3 separate regions of the Homo sapiens genome follow, and regions 2 and 3 are each linked to region 1. The links are contacts of gene promoters, found by promoter capture Hi-C in blood cells and fetal thymus (Javierre and others, 2016). All regions are on one chromosome and are shown on one strand. Each heading gives the region's core, a stretch centred on a gene start or on the middle of the fragment in contact. The rest is flanking DNA. Distances are from core to core; before and after follow the strand shown.

Evidence for each region. The method cuts DNA at HindIII sites, captures the fragments that hold promoters and counts their contacts. A CHiCAGO score of 5 or more calls a contact.
Region 2: a fragment that was not itself captured here is called in contact with the fragment with the promoter of KLRF1 in region 1 in 1 of 17 cell types (activated CD4 T cells); the score reaches 7.2 in activated CD4 T cells.
Region 3: a contact is called between the fragment with the promoter of KLRB1 here and the fragment with the promoter of KLRF1 in region 1, in 2 of 17 cell types (naive B cells and activated CD4 T cells). The highest score is 6.0, in naive B cells.

The regions. Positions count from the first base shown.
Region 1 is chr12:9,825,483-9,829,201 of GRCh38, reverse strand. KLRF1 (killer cell lectin like receptor F1) reads right to left here and starts at 1,721. Exons shown (of 6, transcript NM_016523.3): 1 at 1,573-1,721. The coding sequence starts at 1,657. The HindIII fragment of the contact is 7,114 bases long and covers 204-3,719 here.
Region 2 is chr12:9,997,929-10,001,943 of GRCh38, reverse strand. CLEC1B (C-type lectin domain family 1 member B) reads left to right here and starts at 2,823. Exons shown (of 6, transcript NM_016509.4): 1 at 2,823-2,907; 2 at 3,564-3,662. The coding sequence starts at 2,844. It also overlaps a transcript of CLEC12A not described here. The HindIII fragment of the contact is 873 bases long and covers 1,804-2,676 here.
Region 3 is chr12:9,605,978-9,609,635 of GRCh38, reverse strand. It overlaps KLRB1 (killer cell lectin like receptor B1), which reads left to right and starts at 1,720. Exons shown (of 6, transcript NM_002258.3): 1 at 1,720-1,881. The coding sequence starts at 1,797. The HindIII fragment of the contact is 4,730 bases long and covers 1,719-3,658 here.

The DNA.
Region 1 (3,719 bases), core at 472-2,971:
AGTGATTCTGAAACTACTACATATGTATAGTGGGATAGAGCAATTATGTAATTTCTTACTATCACTGGCAACAAAGGTTTTTCAATATATGAGAAAAGATTTACAAATATGTCATCACAAAATTAAGTTAAATGAATGAACATCATAACCCCAAGGCTCACATTGTCAATCTAATTCACATAAAATACGTCTTACCTCAAGCTTTAATAAATATTAGCTAAAGGTACAAGACATAAATATTAGTATGTGTCACTTAAATATCTGGGAGCCGAAAATCTGCACATTTTTGCTTCAGAGAGACATTTATGAACAGAGTGTGGAAAAAAGTCTGCAGAGAAGTCACTACATGTTGTAGTCTTTCAGGTTTAATATCTCTAATTTCCAAAAATGAAATAAAAATTGAGTGTAGGAAGTAAAGACTTGAAAATATGGGAATCTAAAAATTCACATGGAAGAGGCAATAAATTTCTTATACATAGCACGTATGTAACTCTAAGATGAATCACTGATGGATGATACTTGTGGAAGGACTCAAGAGATAAGTAAAATTTTCATGGGTGAAGTTATTAAAAGAGAAATATTTAGAAAGCAACAGAACAGAACAGACAGTCTCTATAACTGTGATTATTTGTGTCTTTAATTTCTGCTTATCTCTTTTGCCAAATCACATTAAGGTGGCATGATGGAATTGCATTGTGTATGGAGGGTATGCTTGAAGTAGCAAATTAAAATGTTGATTGCTGGTGTATAAACTTTATTTTGAGTCAACTTGGTGAAAAGCATAAAGTTTTTGAGAAGTTGAATTAAAAATTAGTATTAAAGGCTGGGCGCGGTGGCTCATGCCTATAATCCCAACACTTTGGAAGACTCAGGTGGGTGGATCACCTGAGGTCAGGAGTTCAAGACCAGCCTGGCCAACATGGTAAAACCCCATCTCTACTAAAAACGCAAAAAATTAGCCAGGCATGGTGGCGGGCACCTATAATCTCAGCTACTCAGGAGGCTGAGGCAGGAGAATTGCTTGAACCTGGGAGGCAGAGGTTGCAGTGAGCCGAGATCATGCCATTGCACTCCAGCCTGGGCAACAACAGTGAAACTCCGTCTCAAAAAAAAAAAATAGCATTAAAACACCATATTCTATGAATGATAAGGAGGTGAATGGCAGCAAATATTCACTAATTTGAAATTATTAATTTTAATTGAGTATGCATATTTCCTCAGAGAATGTCCTTAAGAAATTATATCAGACAAAATATTACAAGTAAGTGTTAGTTCCACATTGATAAATGGGAGAGAGAGAGATTATCTCATAGTAAATTTGTAAGATTAAATGAAGGAACATAGATAAAACATTCTGTATAGTGCCGGAAACTGGTGTTTCTTAAATGGTAAGAGAGGTTGTTATTTTTAAATCATTATTAATATTGAAAGAGAGGACAGGTGAGAGAGATACAGAGACGGAGAAAGAAAAGCACCCAAATACTGAAACAGTCCAATAACACAATGGAACAGGATACGGGAAACTACCATGTTAATTCACACCAATTGAAAAAATGAAATTAAATTCCATACCTTTAAATGTAAGTTGAGATGTTTGGGCAGAACTCCTTTTCTTTGACTGTACATTCAATGTCATGTATCTTTCTTCATCTTGCATCTTCAATGTGAGTGAATGTGTGTGTATACAGGTATGTTTTGTTTTATTAAGTATAACATGAAATGAGGAAAGAATAATAAATCTGCTGCTAATCAGAGATGCTCCTCAAATTGTCCTTTCACAGTACATATGAGGGTTCACAGTTTCACTTATTTGTGAAAACCTCAGAGGAAATGTTTTCTTTTTAAAAGTTGCTTTCCCATGACATAGATAACACATAATTTCTCAACTGTCCACCACATATTGAATTGAATATTCTTTTGAGTGCTTTACAAATTTCTCTTAATTTACCCTTAAAGTCAAGGGAATGGAAATTATGCCCCTTTTTGAGGTGAGGTTAATAATATATAGCTGCCTTTTGTTATAGCCTAAATATTTATATCATTTGAATTAGCCTCCCTAACATATTGATATTTAATTTAATAATTTGCAATTGCCAAGCAATTAAATTCTTTATCCTAAAACAATATTGTTTATAAATCATGCTAATAATTTAACAGTATAATTTGATTTTTTTTAACTTTTAGGTTCAGGGCTACATGTGTAGGTTTGTTATATAGGTAAAATCATGTCACAGGGGTTTGTTGTACATATTATTTCATCACCCAGGTATTCAGACTAGTACTACATAGTTATGTTTTTCTGATCCTGCCCCTCCTCTCACCCTCCACCTTCAAGTAGGCTCCGGTGTCTGTCATTCTCCTCTATGTGTACATGTGTTCTCATCATTTAGATCCCAATTATTAGTGAGAACATGTGGTATTTGGTTTTCTGTTCCTCCATTAGTTTGTTAAGGGTAACGGCCTCTAGCTTCATCTATGTTCCTGCAATGGACATCATCTCATTCTTTTTTATAGCTGCATAGTATTCCTTTGTATATGTGTATCACATTTTCTTTATCCAGTCTACCATTGATGGGCATTTAGGTTGATTGCATGTCTTTGCTATTGTCAACAGTGCTGCCATGAACAGATGCATGCATGTGTCTTTATGATAGATTTATATTCCTTTGGGTATATACCAGTAATGGGATTGCTGGGTCAAATTTCTGGTTTTAGGTCTTTAAGGAATCACCATGCTATCTTTCATAATGGTTGAACTAATTTACACTCCCATCAAAGGTGTATAAGTGAACCCTTTTCTCCACTACCTCATCAGCATCTGTTATTTTTTGACTTTTTAATAATAGCCATTCGACTGGTATGAGATGGTATCTTACTGTGGTTTTAATTTGCATTTCCCTAATGATTAGTGCCTACTGGAGGATAGAGGGTGGGAAGAGGGAAAGGATCAGGAAAAATAACTAATGGGTACTAGGGTTAATACCTGGGTGAAGAAATAATCTTTACAGCAAACCCCCATTACACAAGTTTACCTATGTAACAAATTTGCACATGTACTCCCAAATTTAAAATAAAATTTTAAAAACACAATATACCCTTTTAAATAAGATAAACTATTAATTCAAGGAGAAAATATTTGACAAATTATCAGAAATATATTTGTTGCTTAATGACAAAAGTAAAAGGATAATACATTTTTGTGTTATTTTTGTTTATTTTTACTTGCTAAATTTTGTTCTTTAATTTATAATTACAATTTCTTTGGCCATTATTTGACACTCCAAATGGATAAGAAGTAAATTAAGATTGATAAATAAAACACGAAAAGTATCTGTTCATGTCCTTAGTCCACTTTTTAATGGGGTTGTTTATTTTTTGCTTGTTGATTGGTTTAAGTTTCTTACAGATGCTGGATATTAGACCTTTGTCAAATGCATAGTCTGCAAAAATTTTCTCCCATTCTGTAGATTATCTGTTCACTCTGTTGATAGTTTCTCTTGCTGTGCAGAAGCTCTTACAGTTAATTATTTTGTTTGTTTGTTTTGTTTTGTTTCACTTTTGTTGCAATTGCTTTTGGCATCTTTGTCATGAAATATTTGCCCATTCCTGTGTCCAGGATGGTAATTCCTAGGTTATCTTCCAGGGTTTTTTATATTTTGGGGTTTTAGACATAAGTATTTTATCCATCTTGAGTTGAGCTTTGTATATGGTATAAGGAA
Region 2 (4,015 bases), core at 991-3,490, 170 kb before region 1:
GGCGCCACTGCACTCCAGCCTGGACGACAGAGCAAGACTCAGTCTCAAAAAAAAAAAAAAAAGATTTTGTTTAGCTGTATATAGTTTCCTTAGTGAAGAAAAGGAGAAGAGAATAAGATATTCAAGCAAGGTTAAAATATTGAAGCAGAAATAAAATAAGCTAATAACGGGACTTGGAGGGTGATTAAAAGGTAACTAGCAAAGACTCTGGATTTGGGAAAAGGAAAAGAAGCATTTGTGATATCTATCTCTCTTTCCTGCAGTTCTCTGCTTAATTTTTGCTGAGTAACTCAACTTACATTTATAGAATGTGGGGAGGGAGCAAAATTAGAACTCAATGTTATCAAGGGCTAGTTCCTTTGGCCCTGAGAGTCTCTGTCTTCGCTCAGCTTGCTTCTAACACCACAAAGTCATGTGAGGGGGGATACACAGAAAGGCAAACGTATATTTTGTGGAACACAGATAAGATATAAGACTCTCAGACTGTGGCTGGAATGATCAAAGATCCAAAAAGCAAGGTTAAATTACAATGAGAAAGAGGAATGAAGCAATGGAAAGTCCAGAGCCTGAGATATAGGAAAGGAATATCTTCAAAGGCGGAGTGTTAACCTACTTCAGGCATTAAATATGCAGTTCTAAGCATTAAAGGATCAAGAACTAATCCTGGCACATTCCTGGTGGTTTACAAAAATACATGGGACATGTTTTATAATGAAATCAGCTGCTCAAGTCCTAGAGAATGTGGAAACCTCAACAAAGCAATCTAATTGTTCTCTTTAATACCATCTTAAAGTTTTTGTTAATAAACAAAAAATGTTTACAATAATTTAAAAATTGTCTCAATGTCCTTGGATCTTACCTTTACATATCTGATTTAATGTAACAAATTAAGTTTTCATATGTACCTGTTTGGTACCTAAGAGAACAGAGTAAAGCTTTATTGGAAAAGTGTCATTTGTACTATAACCTCCACACATTTTCTTTTCTCTCTGTTACTTTGTCACAGTTATTTATTCGATTATTTTTTAGTGTTTCTGTATATTTTAGGTAACAAAACACTGAAGGAAAGCAGTGACCAAAAGAACGTGAAAGACAGGGGTTACTGTGACAGAATAGCCTCAGGACTTGCTGATGAGTAGATGTAGAAAGGAAGGAAGAGAGGGAGGATCAAACCCCATTCCAACCCCAATCTTCCAGAAAAGCCTGAGGATAAATGATGGGAGAGCGAAGAATCCCTTTTAGCTGAAACAGAAGTTATGAGAACAGAAGCAGTGGTAGATGAATGGTAAGTGACTGAATTTACCCAGCTTATGATTGGGAACCCCTGAATATTTTAACTGAGATAAGAAACACAGCAACAAAAATGGTGTTGGGATTTAATGTTTTTTAAAAATTTTTAGTCTTTTCTTAAAATTTGGCATTTATTTCAAATGTGTTTTTTTTTAATTAAGAATTAGTTTTGGTAAAAATATTTGAATCATACTAAGTTTGGCTTTCCAAAATCAGGGAATGTCTTTTATACGTGTTATGCTTATTCTTCACCTCATTCTCAAAATAATTTGAAGAGTATAGAGAAAGAAATTTAGAATGAAAGATAATTTTAAGTGAATTGACAAGAAATTCAGAGTGAAGGAGATAGCAGGGGAGAAAAAATCTACGGGCTATGCCAAAGGGCATGTTAATAAACAAAATATCTGCTACTGCAGCCCACATAATCACTATATTGAAAAGTCTAACACTCTGCTAAGTAAAGAAAAATAGAATTCAAATTATTTATAAGGTAAATGCCTACTACTTAAAGCTTTGCTAGTCATGGTGATTTAACAAAAATAAAAATCTGCCATAAAACTATGTAAGAGTTACCCTATGGCAAAATAGACAACATCCTCCCCAATATTCCTATAATAAATGCATCAGCTAGCTTTGTATGGCTGTTCTTACAACTACTTTCAGTGCAAGCTAAAATAATGTAAAAGCCCATTTCATAAAGTTAAGTGTGTGCAATACATATTATATTGTGATGAAAAGGTGCTAGGAACCATTCAGTCTCAAATATTCATCTAAGCACAGCTGTACTTGAAATGAAGTGATTTCATCAAATCAAAATTCTTCCATTCCAGGAAACTCACTTTAAAGCACAAACACTACTAAAGAACAATGCAGCAAGTCACCAACTCTGTATTATTTTACTTGATTTGATAGTTTTCCTTCAATACCTAAATCTAAGCAATATCAGGCCTGCCTCATGTGGATCCTTCAAATAAAAAAAAGTATGAAATATGCAAGAAGTTGTGTAAATTCTAGGTCATAATCAGGAATGATCTCTTCCAACACAAGACTATGAAACAGCTAATTTAGCCCCTATCAGATCCAATTATATTACACTTGCTTCTCACAATGAGATAAACTATATATCTGCTGGTGAGCTATATCCATGAATTTTCAGCAGAAATCTCTCATTTGAGCAATGTAATTTAGACTAAGCTAGGGCTAAGATAAAGCATGAACTTTTGTTCTTAGAAAGGATGCACATGATGGAATGTCCCTTTATTTAGTGTTGAAGATAAAAAAAAAGCAGGAAGCAAATACCTTATCTACTCCTTTACCACAAGTTATTATTATTTTTGTGTTTTTGTGTTCAAGGTCCATGTATCTCTGAGCAGCTATGAAGAAGCTTCCTGGAAAACAATAAGCAAAGGAAAACAAATGTGTCCCATCTCACATGGTTCTACCCTACTAAAGACAGGAAGATCATAAACTGACAGATACTGAAATTGTAAAGTTGGAAACTACATTTTGCAAAGTCATTGAACTCTGAGCTCAGTTGCAGTACTCGGGAAGCCATGCAGGATGAAGATGGATACATCACCTTAAATATTAAAACTCGGAAACCAGCTCTCATCTCCGGTAAGAATGCTCAGAGCCAATAATTTGGAAATTAATTTAAAAAATGAGTTGATTCAATTCTTTCTTTTTCTACTATTGATAATATATATAGTTTAATTTCTTTTTCTTGAATGATGTTAATGCTCTAAAGCATTTGAGTAGTGTTTTCATAAGCTCATACAGACCTATTTAGATTACAAACATCCAATATATGTGCAGGGAAAATTGCATTAAGATTCTGAGCGTTTAATACTCGAGGGCATAGAAGTCAAGGGGATAACGGAAAAGAGTGGAAATTTCATTTTCTATATGTGAGCAAATGAGTGTGATTCTTCATTTGCTGTTTATTAAAGCAATTATTTATGGCATGGGTGAGCATAAAACAAAACAAAACAAAACAAAACAAAACAAAAAATACAAACACATCAGGCCTTAACAGCAAGTAATATTTCAGCTTGGAGAGGTAAAGTGCATTGGAGATGAGAATGGATGTATGGTATAGGGGTGGGCCATGCCTATTGTTGATGATCATGAGGAGAACACAGGTGAGATCTGCCAGCAAAGCTCTTTCTATTACTTGGAGGACCCTGAGAAGGCAGGGGCAGGGGCAGGGGTGAGCCTTCCCCATAGCTAACCCATACTGCCTGCTCCTTGATGTCTTTATTATATGCCTACAGTTGGCTCTGCATCCTCCTCCTGGTGGCGTGTGATGGCTTTGATTCTGCTGATCCTGTGCGTGGGGATGGTTGTCGGGCTGGTGGCTCTGGGGATTTGGTGTAAGTGTTGACTCTGCCAGAAATTTGACTGGAGGAAGGTAATACTGAAGGGTCATGGCATATCCCACTAAGCTTCTCAATGGTCGCTATTTGTCTGTTTATCACTTCTACAGTTGTCCTACAGATAGTTGCCAAGAGAATCTCAATAAAGGAGAACACTGACTGTTTCCTTGTGATTAAAATAAGATTTTAAGATTTTAACTAATGAAAAGTTATTTTTAAGAATGTACTACTGGCCTTTAAGACCCTCCTCAGTGTGGATCCAAACTATTTTTAAAAACTTTTTCATCCCTTTTCCTATCTTGCATTCCTAAGAACCAGCCAAACTGGAGTTTTTCAATTTCATATATAAA
Region 3 (3,658 bases), core at 471-2,970, 220 kb after region 1:
ACCAATAACAATGGCAACAAAAGCCAAAATTGACCAATGGGATCTAACTAAATTAAAGAGCTTCTGCACAGCAAAAGAAACTACCATCAGAGTGAACAGACAACCTACAGAATGGGAGAAAATTTTTACAATCTACCCATCTGACAAACGGCTAATATCCAGAATCTACAAAGAACTTACATAAATTTACAAGAAAAAATCAACCAACCCCATCAAAAAATGGGCAAAGGATATGAACAGACACTTCTCAAAAGAAAACATTTATGCAGGCAACAGACACATGAAAAAATGCTCATCATCACTGGCCATCAGAGAAATGCAAATCTAAACCACAATGAGATACCATCTCACACCAGTTAGAATGACAGTCATTAAAAAGTCAGGAAAAAACAGGTGCTGGAGAGGATGTGGAGAAATAGGAACACTTTTACACTGTTGGTGGGACTCTAAACTAGTTCAACCATTGTGGAAGACAGTGTGGCGATTCCTCGAGGGACTAGAACTAGAATTTGACCCAGCCATCTCATTACTGGGTATATACCCAAAGGATTATAAATCACGCTGCTATAAAGACACATGCACACATATGTTTATTGTGGCACTATTCACAATAGCAAAGACTCGTGAACCATCCCAAATGTCTATCAATGATAGACTGGATTAAGAATATATGGCACATATGCACCATGGAATAGTATGCAGCCATAAAAAAGGATGAGTTCATGTCCTTTGTAGGGACATGGATGAAGCTGGAAACCATCATTCTGAGCAAACTATTGCAAGGACAGAAAACCAAACACCGCATGTTCTCACTCATAGGTTGGAATTGAACAATGAGAATATTTGGACACAGGGAGGGGAACACCACACACCGGGGCCTGTCGTGGGGTGGGGGGAGGGGGGAGGGATAGCATTAGGAGATATACCTAATGTAAATGACAAGTTAACGGGTGCAGCACACCAACATGGCACATGTATACATATGTAACAAACCTGTACATTGTGAACTTAAAGTATAATAATAATAAAAAAAGGTAAAAAAAAAAAAGTAGACACATACTATAATCACCTTGAAAAAAAAAGAAAGTCTTTCAAAGAGATAAAAAATTCCATATACTCCACTTCCTACAATTCTGGCAGTTTCCAAATACTTTTACTTATGTGAAAATGCTATCATATCCAAGAGTGCCTTTAGAGCTAAGCTAACAGTAGGCTACTGATCTTTAGCACATTGCTTTTTCTGTTGTGTTATTCAGGGGGCTTTCTCACATTTATGTTTCCATTTTTCACATTTCACAACTTTCTTTGGAGCACAGATATTTCAGGAAGATTTTAGAGCCTTTGAATAGCATTATGGACTTTTTTGCATTAATTTTTACTTTTACAAAATTGTGCTAAATATTATTTCTGTTAATTAGTGAGTTTTGTTGGGGGCCCCTTAAATTGGAACCCCAGGCTATGCCTCATTTGCTTCACTCTGGTCCTGGCCCTGAGAGAGGAACACAAAAGGGATGGTTAGAAAAACAAGAACAAATGAGCCTCCCAGAATTTTCTCAAACAACAGGCCAGTTAATTAAGGAAAGTAGATATTACATAGCTAGGTATAATGAACATGCAGTCAGTGGATTGTCTCAGTAATTTATGGAGATAACCACCAACAAAAAGTGTATGTGGGTGGGGACAAAAGAGAGACAACAAAGTACTGCAGGCAGAAAGCTTCCTTTTGCTGATTTTGCCTCACAGAATTGAGAGTTTGTTCTTACACACAAGTTTAATGCCACCTTCCTCTGTCTGCCATGGACCAACAAGCAATATATGCTGAGTTAAACTTACCCACAGACTCAGGCCCAGAAAGTTCTTCACCTTCATCTCTTCCTCGGGGTAAGTGGCTTTAATTTTCCTTTCGGCATTTGTATGTCTTCCAGAATTAGATCTTCCTGTTACATTTATGGCTTTAAATCATTGCTTTAAAGATGAGCAGTAGTTTTATATTAATGTTTAACGGGTGTTGCATGGCTTGCCTGTAGATAATCACAACTTTGGGAAAAAAAATTTAAACCTCATACATTTATTTTTTTCAATCAAGTTAGCATGAAAAGCAAACATCACTTGTCTTACTGAGCCTTGGTTAAAAGACTCTGAACACTTTAGGCTACCCTGGGCACACTGCCTATTGGTTACCCCTGCTCTACAGGGATGGAAAGAAGGAAGAAAGAAAGAAAGAAAGAAAAGAAAGAAAGAAAGAAAGAAAGAAAGAAAGAAAGAAAGAAAGAAAGAAAGGAAGAAAGAAAGAAAGAAAGGAAAGAAAGAGAAAGAAAAGAAGAAAGAAAGAAAGGAGAGAAAGAAAAAGAAAGAGAGAGAAAGGAAAGGAAAGAAAGAAAAAGAGAAGGAGGAAGGAAGGAAGGATGGAAGGAAGGAAGGAAAAATATTTTACATGTATGAACTAAGGAATATTTAAGACACATTGCAAACTTGCTGTAATAACAACCTACGTTATTCCAAATTCCTCTACAAAATATCAATACTATGATTAAGTCCCAGTGCATTTTCATCCATAATATTCCTTTCAGAATACAACGTGTAGGCCAGTTGCAGTGGCTCATGCCTGTAATCCCAACACTTTGGTAGGCTAAGGTGATTTGCTTGAGTCCAGGAGTTTAAGGCCAGCCTGGGCAATGTGGCAAAACCTCATCTCTACAAACAATACAAAAAAATAGCCAAGTGTGGGGCACGTGCCTGTGGTCCTAGCTACTCGGGAGGCTGAGGTGAGAGGATTGCTTGAGCCCAAGAGATCAAGGCTGCAGTGAGCTGTAATTGTGCCACTGTACTCCAGCCTGGGTGACACAGCAAGACTATCTCAAAAAAAAAAAAAAAATATATATATATATATATATATATATACTTTTTATACATATATTTTATATATTTTATATATATATATATACTTTTTATACATATATTTTATATATTTTATATATATATATATAAAGTGTAGGCTTAATGAGTAACATACTTCACTCTCTCAAGAGAGGGGAACACTTTCTGGAAAAAAAATCATATTCAAGATCAAAGATTTGAATATCATTACTACCTGATAGTTTCTAGTTTGAAAAGTATCACAGCTTAGAAAGAGACAAGCCACAAAAATACTCGAGCATATCAGTAACGAACCTACTTACCATTTGTTGAAACTGGCACTTTCCTGTGTCTCTGAAGAGTTAGCATTCTGAGTGAAAGAAGCGGGGAACACCAATGTGAGGTAACACATGATGGATAGCATGGCCTGTGGATGGATGGGAAGAAACTAGAAACTGAGGCAGAAAATCAGCATGAAATTATTATGACACATTATTATTTTCTGATATCTAACTGAATTTACTATCATTGATAATATTACAATTGTTTACCAATCTGATATTCATTCCATGTCATGCCAAGCATTTGACTTGTGCTGTTTTAAGACTGTTTAAGTTTTAAACTATTGAATTCTCAAAGTTTTAAGTCAAGAAGAAAGTCTTAGAGCCGTCAATTAAGTTTCAGTATAATTTTCACATAAGAGTAGAGGAAATCAGAGGGTTCTAATAACTATAGGGAGGATTTGGTTGAGTAACATTTTTTTTTAAAGAAAAGAGTAAGTCTTTCTTTTCCTCTATTCATA